Regions from separate parts of the Homo sapiens genome. Here all the other regions are linked to region 2. The links are contacts of gene promoters, found by promoter capture Hi-C in blood cells and fetal thymus (Javierre and others, 2016). All regions are on one chromosome and are shown on one strand. Each heading gives the region's core, a stretch centred on a gene start or on the middle of the fragment in contact. The rest is flanking DNA. Distances are from core to core; before and after follow the strand shown. Region 1 overlaps LTBR (lymphotoxin beta receptor). Region 2 holds the start of CDCA3 (cell division cycle associated 3). Region 3 overlaps CHD4 (chromodomain helicase DNA binding protein 4).

Region 1 (5,044 bases), core at 1,197-3,696, 460 kb after region 2:
ACATTGGTTGCTTCCAGAGCAGGGACCTTGGTGGTTGGGGGATAGGAGTGAAAGAGAGACATTTCACTGTTTACTCTTTGATACTTTTTGAATTTTGACCCATGTGAATAAATCAACCATCCGAAAGAGAGGAAATAAATACAATTAAAACTAAAAAAGAAAAGGAACACCAAACACTATGATTTACACAAATGGGAACTTTTTTTTTCTCTCATAAAAAGAAGCCCAGGAGTAGGTGCTGTGCTTACTTACTGTTGATTTGGGTCTCAGTGATGCCTTGGGAGCCAGGTTCTGTCCTTTCTTCCAGGTCCTCAGAGGACTGGCTTTTTATCCCCGTGGCGGTTTCCTCATGATGGTAAGATGGCTGCCACAGCTCAGGAGTGATGTTGTCACACGCAAAATCCCCAAAACAAAAAATAAGGGCCAAGGCAAACCAAAAACTTTCTCCTAATGGTGCTTTATACCCTGGAAAGGAAGACTTCCCTGTGCATGTCATTGTACAATTGCAAAGAAGAATGAGTTTATTGGCTCCTGGGATTGGGGGAAGGGCCTCTTCTCCTGATGTCACGGAATCTCTGCTCTAGTACAAAAATGCGGTTCTGTCCTTAGGAAATGTGCAGAAGTCTGTTGGACAGGCAGCAGAAAGAGTCCACCACAGCTGTCTATGTGAACCGCTTTATCTTTTGAAAAGGGAAGTTCTTACTGACCCTTGTTGGGCTGACCCTGCCGGTACTCACAGTGCTTCCTGCGGGAAAAGACTAGAGTGAGTCTCCTGTGAAGTCTCAGACTGGTGGGGAAGCCGAACGCCCACCTCCCATCCACTGTGTCCACTGGAGAAACCGAGCATCCAGGGACTCCTCTGCGTGTGGCACTGTGCGGGCTTGGGGAGGAGTGGCGTGGTCAGAAAGCAGCCATCCCCTTACCGTCCTCATGGTTTTTCTTGGCTCTGCCATCCCAGGGGATGCAAAGCTTCACTCCAAGTTCTGGGATATTCAGGGTGGTAAACTTGCCACAGGATTGTTGCTAGTTGAAATTCTGTTGGGGAGGAGAGAAGCCGGAGAACTCCTACTTTGACATTGTGTTGATGCCACTCTCAAAAAGGGAAATTCTGAATTACCCCATCCTCCCCCATCTCCCTGTGCTACTGCTCTGTCCCCAGTTCCATCCACCTTTCTTCTGGACTACAGCCTTGGCCCCCTAACGGGTGTCCCACCCCCGTGTTGATGTGGGTTGGACTTGGTGTTAGCTTTCTCCTCCCTGTGGTAGAGGATTAGGGTTCTCACAACCAACAGTTACCCCATTGTCAACTGCCATTGCATCCTGTTGCATCTTTTGAAGACCACCATCAAGAGGCTGTCTTTGTTGGTTTTCTGCCAGCTTTTCCTTGTAGACAGGAGCTCCCCTCTACGTGGCCTGTGCTCTGTGGATGTGTCCTGGAGCCTGTACTGACTCCACACTGGCAAAATAGACATGGGTAATGCTGTGGGTGGAACTGTGTCTCCCTCCAAAATCCACGTGCTGAAGCCCTAACTCCCAGGACCTCAGAATGGGGCCTTATTTGGAGACAGGGGCTTTAAAGAGGTGACTAAGTTAAAATGAGGTCATCAGGATGGGCCCTAATCCACTAAGAGAAGATTAGGACACACTCATGCACAAAGGCAAGACCATGTGAAGACATAGGTGGCAGGAAGGCCACCATTAGCAGGCCAAGGACAGAGGCCTCAGAGGACACCAACCTTGCCAACACGTTGACCTCTGACTTCCAGCCTCCAGAGCTGTGAGAAGATAAATCTCTGCAGCTTAAGCTATCGAGTCTGCAGTACTTTGTTATGGCGGCCCTAGAAAATTAATTTAGGCAGCCCAGGTGCAGTGGCTCATGCCTGCAATCTCAGCTCTTTGGGAGGCTGAGGTGGGAGGATCACTTGATCCCAGGAGTTTGAGACCAGCCTGGACAACATAGCAAGACCCCACTTCTTAAAAAAGAAATTAAAAAAAAATTAGCCAGGTGTGGTGGCACGCATCTGTAGCTCTAGCTACGTGGGAGGCTGAGGTAGGAAGATCATTTGAGTCTAGGAGCTGAGGCTATATGAGCCACGATTATACCACTGCACTCAAGCCAGGGCGACACAGTAAGACCCTGTCTCTAAAAAAATACAGGCAGGTATAATTATAAATTTGAATGGTGTCACAAAGGGCTGTGCTTCAGCATCATTTCTTTCAAAATATTTTCCTCCTTTTATTTTGTTGAAAAAAATGTATAAAATTTGTTTTTTATCTAAACACATTAGAACAATTATTAAGAATTCATGAGGTCTGGCCCCAGCATATTGCAGGGGCAGGAGGATTTAACTTTATTTAAAGATACAGCTCACCATTATTTACTTTTCAAAAAAGGAAGTTGGATGTGATATTTTCACAGTCAACCTTAAATGACCCATCCACTCCATTGGATCAGACGCCTTCTGAGGTGTGTGTTTTGCAGCCGCCCCACCCTGATGAGCTCCAGCGACAGAGTTCCTCATATCAGACCCATGAGAGTGGCCTTTTATGGAAGGAGCAGCCGGCTGGCAGCAGCTCCCTAACAATCCTGCAAGCTAAGATCCTCTCGACCGAGCACAGGAGAGAATTCAGGGGCAGGGAGGGGCAAACATTTACTAATAAGAGGGCTTGAGAAGATTTAAAGTCCTTTTTGGGGGTAAAAATAAAAGAAGACAAAAAGAAACCAAAAAAGTAAAAATCATAAATACTCTTTCTGAACCAAAAGGAGGCCAGCCTAGATTTCTGTTCACCAACAAAATGTGAACTTGGCCTCTCTCATTTTATGTCTAAAGTGCACACCTCAGGTCAGGCACGGTGGCTCTCACGCCTGTAATCACTGCATGTTCAGAGGCCAAGGCAGGAGGATTGCTTGAGCCCAGGAGTTCGAGACCAGCCTGGGCAACACAGGGAGACCTGATCTCTACTAAAAATACAAAAAATTAGCTGGGCGTCGTGGCACACACCTATAGCCCCAGCTACTTGGGAGGCTGAGGTGGGCGGATCCCTTGAGCCAGGAGTTCAAGGTTGCCATGAGCCATAATAGTGCCACTGCACAACAGCCTGAGTGACAGAATTAGATCCTGTCTCAAAAAAAAAAAAAAAAATTGCACACATTTCCCTTCAATCAACCTTGGAGAACATTTTTCACTTCGCGTGTGGCTAGATGTTTGAGAGTTGACTGAAAAGTAACACCTGCGGAACATGCAAGAGATCTGATTATTTGAGAAGGCCAGACCATTCTACCCGTTCAAAGAAATTCTGGAAGGGCGTGGTATATGAAGGCTTTTTTTTCCCCAAGAGGCCTCTAAAAGCCAGACGAACTAGGTGCAAATCCCAGCTTTGTCATTTGCAGCTGAATTGGGAAAGTTACCGCTCTGTGCCTCAGTTTCCTCATTTGTTAAATGGGAATCATATCTACCTTAGGGAGTTATTGTGAAGATTAAGTAAGTTAGTACTGTAAAGCATTGAGAACACTGCCTGGCACGTTGTCAGCCATCACTGACGAGACTGTTATTACCTGGACTATACTCACCAGCTCCTCACTGAAATATCTTTATGGGATTATATTTTAGTGTCTTGACCTTTGTCTTTGAGATTGTCTCCATGGAATAGTGTTTCTGTATAAATCCCAAGAAAATAAATTATCTAGGTCCCATTCTTTTTATTTGCATGTGGTTACAATATAAATACACTTGCCATTTTCCTCCCCTTCCAAAACTCTTCCCCATACCTAGGAATCCTACCCAACCCCCTAGTTGTTAATGACTCCCTTTCCTCTCCTCTAGGAGGGGAGGGAAGGAGCGTCCTCCCTATAATTTCATCTTCATGCAGGGTCTACCTCAGTCCACGTGAAGTGTGGAACCCCAAAGGGTCTCTGAAGCTTGGGGATGAGCACCACGAATCCTTTAGAGGGGCCCGTGACGTCCTTGCAGGTGACCGTGTGGCGGCTCCCTCGGTGCCGTGCTCCGGTGCGGCGTGCCGTAGTGGGCAGCAGTTGGTATCATGTGCCCTGTCCGTGCCTGAGGCTGAGCAGCCCCAGGGGGTGGGTGGGTCTGCCGGGAGGCCTCAGGTTTGCTCAGGCAGTAGGGAGAGTCCTGTGGAGGGCACCGTACCCAGCCAGTGCCCACCTGCTCTCAGAGGTGTCTGAGCCTTAATCCCTTAGGGCTCTGCTTCCCCGGGCCCTACTCAGGCCCCTGTGAATCCCACGTGGGCAGGGCAGCCTCAAGGGAGAAGGTGCCCTTGTGCCCCCCTTCTTCTGCCTTTTCTCAGACTCAGTCAGTCATGGGTGATAAATTGGTTCCTTGGGCCCCTGTTAGAGGGTGTGGCACCACAGTGCTCTGTCTCCGCTAGGTGCCAAGCCTTGCCATCTTCCTGGTGGGGTGTAGAGAGCCCGGGAGGGCCAGGGTCCCCCTCTTCGGGAATGGGGTATGGAGGTTCGGGGGTAGCTGGGAGGTCTCCAGGACCCGGTGGTCCCCCCAGTACTGGTCCATTGTAGATGTAGATGTTGCCAGTGATAGTCATAGACCCGCCGGTGACATGAATGCCATTGGTACCTGTAGGAAGGGAGGCAGAGTGTTGAGGAAGGAAGGCCCCCAGTTCAGGCCCGCTGCTTCTTGAATTCTTGCCTTCTTCTCGCCTTTCCCCTGGCCCCGCCCCTCTCCTGCTTGCTGCTGGTTTATTGAGCTTCTGTGTTCATTTCTCTGCTTCTGGGTTTTCCAGTCTCTTCCCTCTTCTCTAGTTGTGACACTGACTGGCAGCGGAGTCTCTGTCTGCCTCTGTTTTGGTCTTTTTATTTCATCTGGCCCACAGTCTCTCCCTGCCAGCCATCCCTCCCTCCCCATCCTTCCTCTCTTCTCCCTGCCCCAGGCTCACCGTGGGCCACCTGGCTCTGCTCCCCGGGTTCCAACTGCGGCTCCCTGGTCAGGTCCAGAGGACTCTGCTGTTGCGGCACCCCTGCCTCCAAAACTGGGGCTGCGGGGAGCCCAGTGGATACTGGGGAAACATC
Region 2 (4,552 bases), core at 825-3,324:
AAATCACAGTGATGATCCTGAACTGGGCCTCACATCATGCTGTTCTACTCAGTACTGGTGATGCAGTAATGAAGGCTTTCCACTCTGACTTGCAGTTTTCAGGCCATGAGCTGGTTCTGGCAGAATACACTGGGCAGGGCACAGCAGCTTGAGGGGAGGGGTGGTGAGGGGGGCGGATCCCAACCAAGCTGCTGCCTTCTCAGTTCAGGCCCCAAAGGGCCTCCGCTTGAGGGTGACATAGGGAAGGCAGAACTGCAGGAAGGGAGGTACCAGGTGGAGCCTGCAAAACGTGAAGCATGGTGTGGGAGGTGGCTTTGTGTAACTAGCCAAGAGTGGGAGCGGGATGGGAAAGAGGCCTTAGCATCCTCCGAGAAAGAAACCACCTCTCTAGGAATACTTTAAAAGGGGTTATCTCAGCTGTCTGTGATAGGCTGGGGGGCGGGGGGAAGGGTGGGGGCTGCGGCCATTGCTCACTTCAAAGGAGAAACGACTAGAGCTTTCCTCTCCTCTTTCCTCCCCTCCCCGCCCCCTGTCTGTTTTAACCACGGGGTGGAGGCTCTCTGCCTTTCTCAGAATCGGACTTCTTGAGAGTCCACTCCCAGACTATTAACCGCCTAGGAACTGCGGTCCCCACCCCCCAACTCCAACCCCGGCCGAGAACAGTGGGGAGTCGTCCCCATCACTCCTACACGAGACTACAAAACCCGGAGAGCCGTGCGCGGCAGACAAGGCCGACTGCCAGGTTTTCTCAAGGGTCCACTTGGGGGATGTAGTCCGACGGTCGGGCTGCGCCCCTAGCTTAGAACGGCAACGAAGGCAGTGAGTGACTACAATGCCCACAGTGCTCCACGAAGCGGGGAGCCGGAGAGGTGAGCGCGGCGGCTTCCGGGGACGGTAGTCACACGACAGCCGCAGTTAATGAAAGGCAACGGCAGAGTGGAGCGTGGGAGACTACAAGTCCCATGGTGCATCGCAGGGAGGCGGTAGCCCAAGCCTTGCAGGCCCCAGCGGAATGACCAGGGCGATGGAAGGAAGTCGTGCTCGTTGCGGGCGTGGGGAATGGGCTTACCGGCGTGTCGAAGGAGAAGGCGCACTCGTCTTTGTGGACCCGGTCTCCAGCCTTAGGGACCCGGATCGTCGGTAATACTGACAGCAGCGCCTCCTCACTCAGCTCCGCCATGACACCGGCAGCAGCTTCTCCACACACGGCGGCTCCCACCGTTCCCAGTCCCCTCCCCTGCCCCTCCCGTCCAATGAGCGCCACTCGTTAGGGGCATGCGCCGCGGAGACGACGCGCGAGAATGGCAGTTGGACGGAGCCTGCCTGCCGGTGCTCCGCCCCTGCCCCGCGCTTGACTGACGCCAATGAGAAGCGCTCCTAAGGCAATTGATGGTTGAAAGAACCAATCCCACTCCTCCAGGGCGGGAGCGCACGTAGAGCAGCTAGGTGGGCTTCGGGGTTGCAGCTGCTGCGGCTCCGCAGCTGCTCCGGCTCCGGGACCCTTAGAGTCCATTCGCGTGCCTTCTATTGAAGAGCAGGAACTGACGGTTGTTTTAGGCCTCTCAATTCCAGAAAGTTTCCTGGGGACCTGTCCGGTCGGAAAGTCGAGGGACAGTTGTCTTGGTATTTGTAAAGGGGGTATCCAGTGAGGCGGAGCTTGAGGGGGTTGTGTCGAGTGACTGATACAGCTGTCAACCAATAAAGCTACTATCGCTCGCCTCAGGAAAACCATCACAACTCCAGCTGGATGTGCGCATAATAGTGTAATCACTCATGATTCTATTTTGTTTAATAATTCGTTCTTGAGACTAGACGTCTCGAAAGCGAAGACTGGCACTCCTCAGCCTGCCACGGACGGCTCGCAGGCCGATACTGAACAGAAGTACCCTTATCAAGGAGGCGTCACCCCTGGGCAAGCCTAGCATCAGTCCATTGACACCTACAGTCACCATGATAGACGTTCTCCCAGACCAACAGCTTCCTTTGGCTCGAGGCGGGTCTTACGTGGAGGGCCTATGGGAACTACGTCGGCTCAGCCAATAGGGTCAGGGCAGGGGGCGTGGCGGGAAGTTTGAAACTGGTAACTTCGGGAGTTGAGCCACGAGCTGTTGTGCATCCAGAGGTGGAATTGGGGCCCGGTAAGTGATTTGAATAATTTAATAAATAAGTTAGAGGGCTCAGCAGGCCCAGAACGAGCCATTTTGTCAGCTGCAGCAGTCATTAACTCCGCAGAGGCCTCTGGTCCCTCGCCAGGAAGTTTCTTCACTGGAAACTGGGAAGACAGGGTGGTTTAGGGTTGAAGGTCCGACGTGGAAGAGATAAGGGCTGAGACCTGAGTCACTTCTCACAGGCATTCCCTCCTCGTCCCGGGCTGGCCCTTGCCCCCACCCTGCAACTCCTGGTTGAGATGGGCTCAGCCAAGAGCGTCCCAGTCACACCAGCGCGGCCTCCGCCGCACAACAAGCATCTGGCTCGAGTGGCGGACCCCCGTTCACCTAGTGCTGGCATCCTGCGCACTCCCATCCAGGTACTCTGGGCCAGCGTGGGAAAGGCAGAGAATGTCTGAATTCTTGGGTCTCTTCCTAACCTGATTTTGAGAGAGCCGTCATGACCCCACCCTTATCCTAGCCTTATTTTCTGCAATCTCAATCTGTGTGGGGTAGGCTGGATATCTGAGGGCCTTGGCAATTCCTTCCTGGAATATGGGGAGGAGAGGAGAGAAGAGTCAGGGCCCAGACTTGTTCTAGCCTATGGTCTTGACAGGTGGAGAGCTCTCCACAGCCAGGCCTACCAGCAGGGGAGCAACTGGAGGGTCTTAAACATGCCCAGGACTCAGATCCCCGCTCTCCTACTCTTGGTATTGCACGGACACCTATGAAGACCAGCAGTGGAGGTAAGCGTTGGGCCCAGGGAATGCTGATGAAGCTGTCATCTATTATTCTTGGGTAGGGTCCATGAAGCCATTCTCTCAGGGTTCCTTAAAGGGGCCTCTATCCTCCTGCTTCGGACCCATCTCACTCTTATCTCAATATTTTGTTCCCAGCCTGGGTGCGGTGGCTCATGCCTGTAATCCCAGCACGTTGGAAGGCCGGGGTGGTCAGATCGCTTGAGCCCAGGAGTTCAAGACCAGCCTAGGCAACATGGCAAAACCCCATCTCTAGAAAAAATACACACACATAACACACACACACACACACAAAAGCACGGTGGCATGGGCCTGTGATCCCAGCTACTCAGGAGGCTGAAGTGGGAGGATTGCTTGAGCCCACAAGGTCAAGGCTGCAGTGAACTGTGATCACGCCACTGCACTCCAGCCTGGGGGACAGAGCAAGCCCCATCTCAAAAAAAAAAAAAATTGCTCCCTTTCACCTTGATTTCCTTGATTTCTCTCTTCCCACTTGCTCACCCTCCTGGGCATGAGTCCTGGGTTTCTGTATGTTTTGCTCCTTGCTGAATGTTGTGTATCAGAAGGTCACTGTTCACTTCACTTTCTTCCTCTAGACCCCCCAAGCCCACTGGTGAAACAGCTGAGTGAAGTATTTGAAACTGAAGACTCTAAATCAAATCTTCCCCCAGAGCCTGTTCTGCCCCCAGAGGCACCTTTATCTTCTGAATTGGACTTGCCTCTGGGTACCCAGTTATCTGTTGAGGAACAGATGCCACCTTGGAACCAGACTGAGTTCCCCTCCAAACAGGTGTTTTCCAAGGAGGAAGCAAGACAGCCCACAGAAACCCCTGTGGCCAGCCAGAGCTCCGACAAGCCCTCAAGGGACCCTGAGACTCCCAGATCTTCAGGTACAGAATCTAAGGCAAGATGCAGGGAAGATAAACTAGGATAATGTTTTGGGATAAGGTCCATGGGTGAGTGTGGGAGGAATAAACTGTAAGTCCTAGTTTTGGGTCCTTGCTTTAACGCCTTACCCACCCCAGGTTCTATGCGCAATAGATGGAAACCAAACAGCAGCAAGGTACTAGGGAGATCCCCCCTCACCATCCTGCAGGATGACAACTCCCCTGGCACCCTGACACTACGACAGGTAAAGGAAGAGAAAGTGCAAGCTGTTACTAGGATATCCAACGTAGAGGGTGGGAGACCCTTTTACCCAGATCTTCCCTCTTCTGAACAGCAACTCCCCCCAACTCATACACTGCCGTTTTCAGGGTAAGCGGCCTTCACCCCTAAGTGAAAATGTTAGTGAACTAAAGGAAGGAGCCATTCTTGGAACTGGACGACTTCTGAAAACTGGAGGACGAGCATGGGAGCAAGGCCAGGACCATGACAAGGAAAATCAGCACTTTCCCTTGGTGGAGAGCTAGGCCCTGCATGGCCCCAGCAATGCAGTCACCCAGGGCCTGGTGATATCTGTGTCCTCTCACCCCTTCTTTCCCAGGGATACTGAGGAATGGCTTGTTTTCTTAGACTCCTCCTCAGCTACCAAACTGGGACTCACAGCTTTATTGGGCTTTCTTTGTGTCTTGTGTGTTTCTTTTATATTAAAGGAAGTAATTTTAAATGTTACTTTAAAAAGGTATATGTAAACCTTGCACCGAG
Region 3 (4,860 bases), core at 2,073-4,572, 260 kb after region 2:
CCGCCCACCTCGGCCTCCCAAAGTGCTGGGATTACAGGCACGAGCCACCACGCCCAGCCTGTTTTGTTTTGTTTATTCGAGATAGGGTCTCACTCTGTTGCCGAGGCTGGAGAGCAGTGGCACAATCATGGCTTACTACAGCCTGGACACACCCCCAGGCTCAAGTGATCCTGCTGCTTCAGCCTCCCAACTAGCTGGGGCTGTAGGCTTGATCCACTGTACCTAGCTAACTAAAAAAATTTTTTTGTAGAGATGGGGTCTTGCCATGTTGCCCAGGCTGATCACAAAGTTCTGGGCTCAAGCAATCCTCCTGCCTTGGCCTCCCAAAGTATTGAGATTATAGGCATAAGCCACTGTGCTCAGTATCACTACTCCTTGTTTAAAAAAAAAAAACTTTTTATTTTAATTTTAGACTTAGAAAAAAGTTGCAAAACAGCAGAGAGAGTTCATGTATACTGTTCAACTAGCTAGCTTCTCTTAATAATAACTTACGTAACTGCAGTACAATGATCAAAACTAGAAAATTAACATTGGTATTGTACTATAAATGACAGAACTTCAATGAATGTCACCAATTTTTCTTGATGTCTGTTTTCTGTTTCAGGATCCAATCCCAGGTCCCGTGTTCCATTTAGTTATTGTGCTTCCTGCTATCTGTGACATTTCTTTATTTTCTTATATGATACAGATTTTTTTTCTTCTTCGGGATGGAGTCTCACTCTGTTGCCCAGATTGGAGTGCAGTGGCGCGATCTTGACTCATTGCAACCTATGCCTCCTGGGTTCAAGCAATACTCCTGTCTCAGCCTCCTGAGTAGCTGAGATTACGGGTGTGTGCCACCACGGGCCCAGATTTTTGTATTTTTAGTAGAGACAGGGTTTCACCATGTTGGCCAGGCTGGTCTCGAACTCCTGACCTCAGGTGATCCGCCCGCCTTGGCCTCCCAAAGTGCTGGGATTACAGGTGTGAGCCACTGTGCCTGGTCAATATAGATACTTTTGATAAGCACTGTTCAGTTATTTTGTAGAATGTCTCTTAAGTTTGGGTTTGTGTGATGTTTTCTCTTGATTAGATTAGACATTCTGGGCAAGAATGCCACAGAGGTGATGATGTGTCCTTTTCTTTTTTTTTTTTTTGAGACAAAGTCTTGCTCTGTCACCAGGCTGGAGTGCAGTGGCCTGATTTTGGCTGACTGCAACCTCTGCCTCCCGGGTTCAAGCCATTCTGCTGCCTCAGCCTCCCGAGTAGCTGGGATTACAGGCACCCGCCACCACGCCCGGCTAATTTTTGTACTGTTAGTAGAGACAGGGTTTCACCATGTTGGCCAGGATGGTCTCGATCTCCTGACCTTGTGAACCACCCGCCTCAGCTTCCCAAAGTGCTGGGATTACAGGCGTGAGCCACCACGCCCAGTCGATGATGTGTCCTTTTCAGTTCATCATACTGGGGGACGGACATGATGTTCATATGTCCCCTTACTGGTAATGACTTGATCACTGGTTAAGGTGGTGCCTGCTGAGTTTCTGCAGTGTAAAGTTTCTATTGTTCCCATTGTGATTGATAAATAGCTTGAGGGAGATATTTGAGACTATGTCAGTGTCCTGTTTCTCCTTAAACTTTCACACCGATATTAGTATTCGTCAGTGGACCTTGATTACAATGATTATTACTGTGGTGTTTGCCTAATGAGGTTTTATATTCTGACATTCTTTCTTTTTTACTTCTGCCTCCCGGGTTCAAGCTATTCTCTTGCCTCAGCCTCCCGAGTAGCTGGGATTACAGGTGCCTGCCACCACACCTGGCTAATTTTGTATTTTTAGTAGGCAGGGTTTCACCACGTTGGCCAGCTTAGTCTCGAACTCCTGACCACAGGTGATCTGCCCACCTCAGCCTCGCAAAGTGTTGGGGTTACAGGTGTGAGTCACTGCACCTGGCCTATTCTGACATTTTTCTATAAGAGTTAGGGTCTTGCTCTGTTGCCCAGGCTGGAGTGCAGTAGCACAGTCAGAGCTCATTATAACCTTGAACTCTTGGGCTCAAGTGATTCTCCTGCCTCAGCTTCCTGAGTAGCTGGGACTACAGGCGTGTGCCACCATTCCCAGCTAAATTTTTTTTTTTTTTTGAGATGGAGTTTCTTGCTCTGTTGCCCAGGCTAAAGTGCAGTGGTGCAATCTCTGCTCACTGCAACCTCTGCCTACCAGGTTCAAGCGGTTCTCCTGCCTCAGTCTCCTGAGTAGCTGGGATTACAGGTGTATACCACCACGCCTGGCTAATTTTTGTATTTTTAGTAGAGACAGGGTTTCACCGTGTTGGCCAGGCTGGTCTCGAACTCCTGATGTCAAATGATCCACCTGTCTCTGCCTCCCAAAGTGCTGAGATTACAGGCATGAGCCACTGCCCCCGGCTTAATTTTTTAAACTACATTTATGAATTGGAATTTAGGAGACACTTCTAATGGTGTTTTTGGTTCTTTTATTAGCACCGGGTGCTCAGCAGTTCTGCTTCTTGCTTTCCACTCGAGCTGGGGGCCTTGGAATCAATCTGGCCACTGCTGACACAGTTATTATCTATGACTCTGACTGGAACCCCCATAATGACATTCAGGTGAGCAGAGGCAGCAGGCAGCCTTAATAAGTAACATGTTATGCTAGAAAGGCATAGTGGCCTCTATGAGGGCTCCACCATCTGGAATTAGGTTTTTAAGTGAGAAACAACAGATTCTTTTTGTGTTGTTTACCTTATTGTAAGCCAGAGTTTGGTTAGCTGTGATCCTATTTTGGGTAACATGATAATAGAGGGTGGTGTCTGGAGGCAGGGGTGCAAAAGGAAGTTTCCTATGAATGTAGGCTGTGGACCTTGCCTTGTACTGAATTTAGAATATTATGTGGAAGTCAGGATAAGAGTGGCACCAGGAAAATACAATTTCTGGCTTTATTTCCTGTTCAACTCCAGGCCTTTAGCAGAGCTCACCGGATTGGGCAAAATAAAAAGGTAATGATCTACCGGTTTGTGACCCGTGCGTCAGTGGAGGAGCGCATCACGCAGGTGGCAAAGAAGAAAATGATGCTGACGCATCTAGTGGTGCGGCCTGGGCTGGGCTCCAAGACTGGATCTATGTCCAAACAGGAGCTTGATGATATCCTCAAATTTGGCACTGAGGAACTATTCAAGGATGAAGCCACTGATGGAGGTGAGGTAGTCAGGAACTTACGTTTTGGTGTGGGGCTTGGCCTCTCTAAAGGTTAGGGAGAATCTTTGATACCAAGGGTCTTGTGGGACTTGCTTTTTCCACTGCAGCTGCTGAAACTGACTTTGGGGATGTGGGCCCTTGATTTTTTATAGGAGGAGACAACAAAGAGGGAGAAGATAGCAGTGTTATCCACTACGATGATAAGGCCATTGAACGGCTGCTAGACCGTAACCAGGATGAGACTGAAGACACAGAATTGCAGGGCATGAATGAATATTTGAGCTCATTCAAAGTGGCCCAGTATGTGGTACGGGAAGAAGAAATGGGGGTGAGTATGAATCCAAGGCAATCCTGTGCTTGGTAATTGGTCTGAAAATTGGCATTGAGACCAAGGTGGTATTTGAGACAAGTGGAAAATATCTGTAGGCAAATTCTTATGTTGATGAATTGATCCTCTTCCTTTGAAAACAAAGCTGATAACATGACTAATCAGATTTTCATCTTTGCCTTGGTTGTCAGAAAACTTACAACCAAATATCATGCTCACAACAGTTATTTTGGCTCTTTACCAGAATGTCATTTTCTCCTATGTGTTTTATTAAACCTTACAAATGAAATTTTGAATGCTACCTCATCTCTCTAGAGAAAAGGCAGAAGATCCTAGGTAATCTATCTCTTTGTGTTTTCTGGTTTTTATTTAAGAGACAGGGTCTCTACCAGGTGCAGTGGCTCACATCTGTAATCCCAGCACTTTGGGAGGCCGAGGCAGGCAGATCACTTGAGGCCAGGAGTTTGAGACCAGCCCGGCCAACACGGTGAAACCCCGTTTCTACTAAAAATAAAAAAATTAGCCAGGCACGATGAAGCACACCTGTAGTCCCAGGTGTTCGGGAGGCTGAGGCAGGAGAATTGCTTGAACCCAGGAGGCGGAGGTTGCAATGAGCTGAGATTGCGCCACTGCATTCCAGCCTGATGACAGAGCCAGACTGTGTTTGAAAAAAAAAAACAACAAAAAAAGAGACAGGGTCTTGCTCTGTCACCCAGGCTAGAGTGCAGTGGCACAATCATAGCTGAGTGCAACCTTAAACTCTTGGGCTGAAGAGTGACCCTAGTAGATGTGTGCTACCACACCTGGTTAATTTTTTAAATGTTTTTAGAGATGTCTTGCTATGTTGCCCAGGATGGTCTTGAACTCCTGGCCTTAAGCAGTTCTCCTGCCTTGACCTCCCAAAGTGCTGGAATTACAGGTGTTAGCCACCACACCAGGCCTCCTTGTGTATGTATGTATGTATGTATTTATTTATTTATTTTGAGATGGAATCTCACTCTCTCCCCCAGGCTGGAGTGCAGTGGTGCGATCTTGGCTCACTGCAAGCTCTGCCTCCCGGGTTCATGCCATTCTTCTGCCTCAGCCTCCCGAGTAGCTGGGGACTACAGGTGCCTGCCTCCACACCCAGCTAATTTTTTTTGTATTTTTAGTAGAGATGGGGTTTCACTGTGTTAGCCAGGATGGTCTCGATCTCCTGACCTTGTGATCCACCCACCTCTGCCTCCCAAAGTGCTGGGATTACAGGCGTGAGCCACTGCCCCTGGCCTTATATATTTTTTTTTTGATACGGAGTCTTGCTCTGTTGCCCAGGCTGGAGTTCAGTGGTGCGATCACAGCCTAC

The links. The method cuts DNA at HindIII sites, captures the fragments that hold promoters and counts their contacts. A CHiCAGO score of 5 or more calls a contact.
Region 1: a contact is called between a fragment that was not itself captured here and the fragment with the promoter of CDCA3 in region 2, in 1 of 17 cell types (monocytes). The highest score is 5.3, in monocytes.
Region 3: a fragment that was not itself captured here is called in contact with the fragment with the promoter of CDCA3 in region 2 in 3 of 17 cell types (activated CD4 T cells, fetal thymus and non-activated CD4 T cells); the score reaches 6.0 in activated CD4 T cells.

Annotation. Positions count from the first base shown.
Region 1 is chr12:6,390,208-6,395,251 of GRCh38, reverse strand. It overlaps LTBR (lymphotoxin beta receptor), which reads right to left. Exons shown (of 10, transcript NM_002342.3): 9 at 4,912-5,044; 10 at 3,686-4,592. The coding sequence ends at 4,315. Among named protein-coding and RNA genes, the nearest start is that of LTBR, 8.6 kb to the right of the region's middle. RefSeq lists an enhancer at 3,779-4,591. The HindIII fragment of the contact is 2,950 bases long and covers 972-3,921 here.
Region 2 is chr12:6,848,808-6,853,359 of GRCh38, reverse strand. CDCA3 (cell division cycle associated 3) reads left to right here and starts at 2,074. Exons shown (of 6, transcript NM_031299.7): 1 at 2,074-2,138; 2 at 2,351-2,527; 3 at 2,764-2,893; 4 at 3,502-3,795; 5 at 3,931-4,037; 6 at 4,162-4,532. The coding sequence starts at 2,408. The coding sequence ends at 4,317. It overlaps USP5 (ubiquitin specific peptidase 5), which reads right to left and starts at 1,210. Exons shown (of 20, transcript NM_001098536.2): 1 at 1,070-1,210. The coding sequence starts at 1,180. RefSeq lists silencers at 219-268, 1,239-1,348, 2,019-2,068 and enhancers at 549-1,188, 1,459-1,508, 612-1,572, 1,579-1,858. The HindIII fragment of the contact is 8,619 bases long and covers 1-4,552 here.
Region 3 is chr12:6,586,042-6,590,901 of GRCh38, reverse strand. It overlaps CHD4 (chromodomain helicase DNA binding protein 4), which reads left to right. Exons shown (of 40, transcript NM_001273.5): 23 at 2,480-2,604; 24 at 2,953-3,190; 25 at 3,343-3,518. Among named protein-coding and RNA genes, the nearest start is that of CHD4, 19 kb to the left of the region's middle. The HindIII fragment of the contact is 7,516 bases long and covers 1-4,860 here.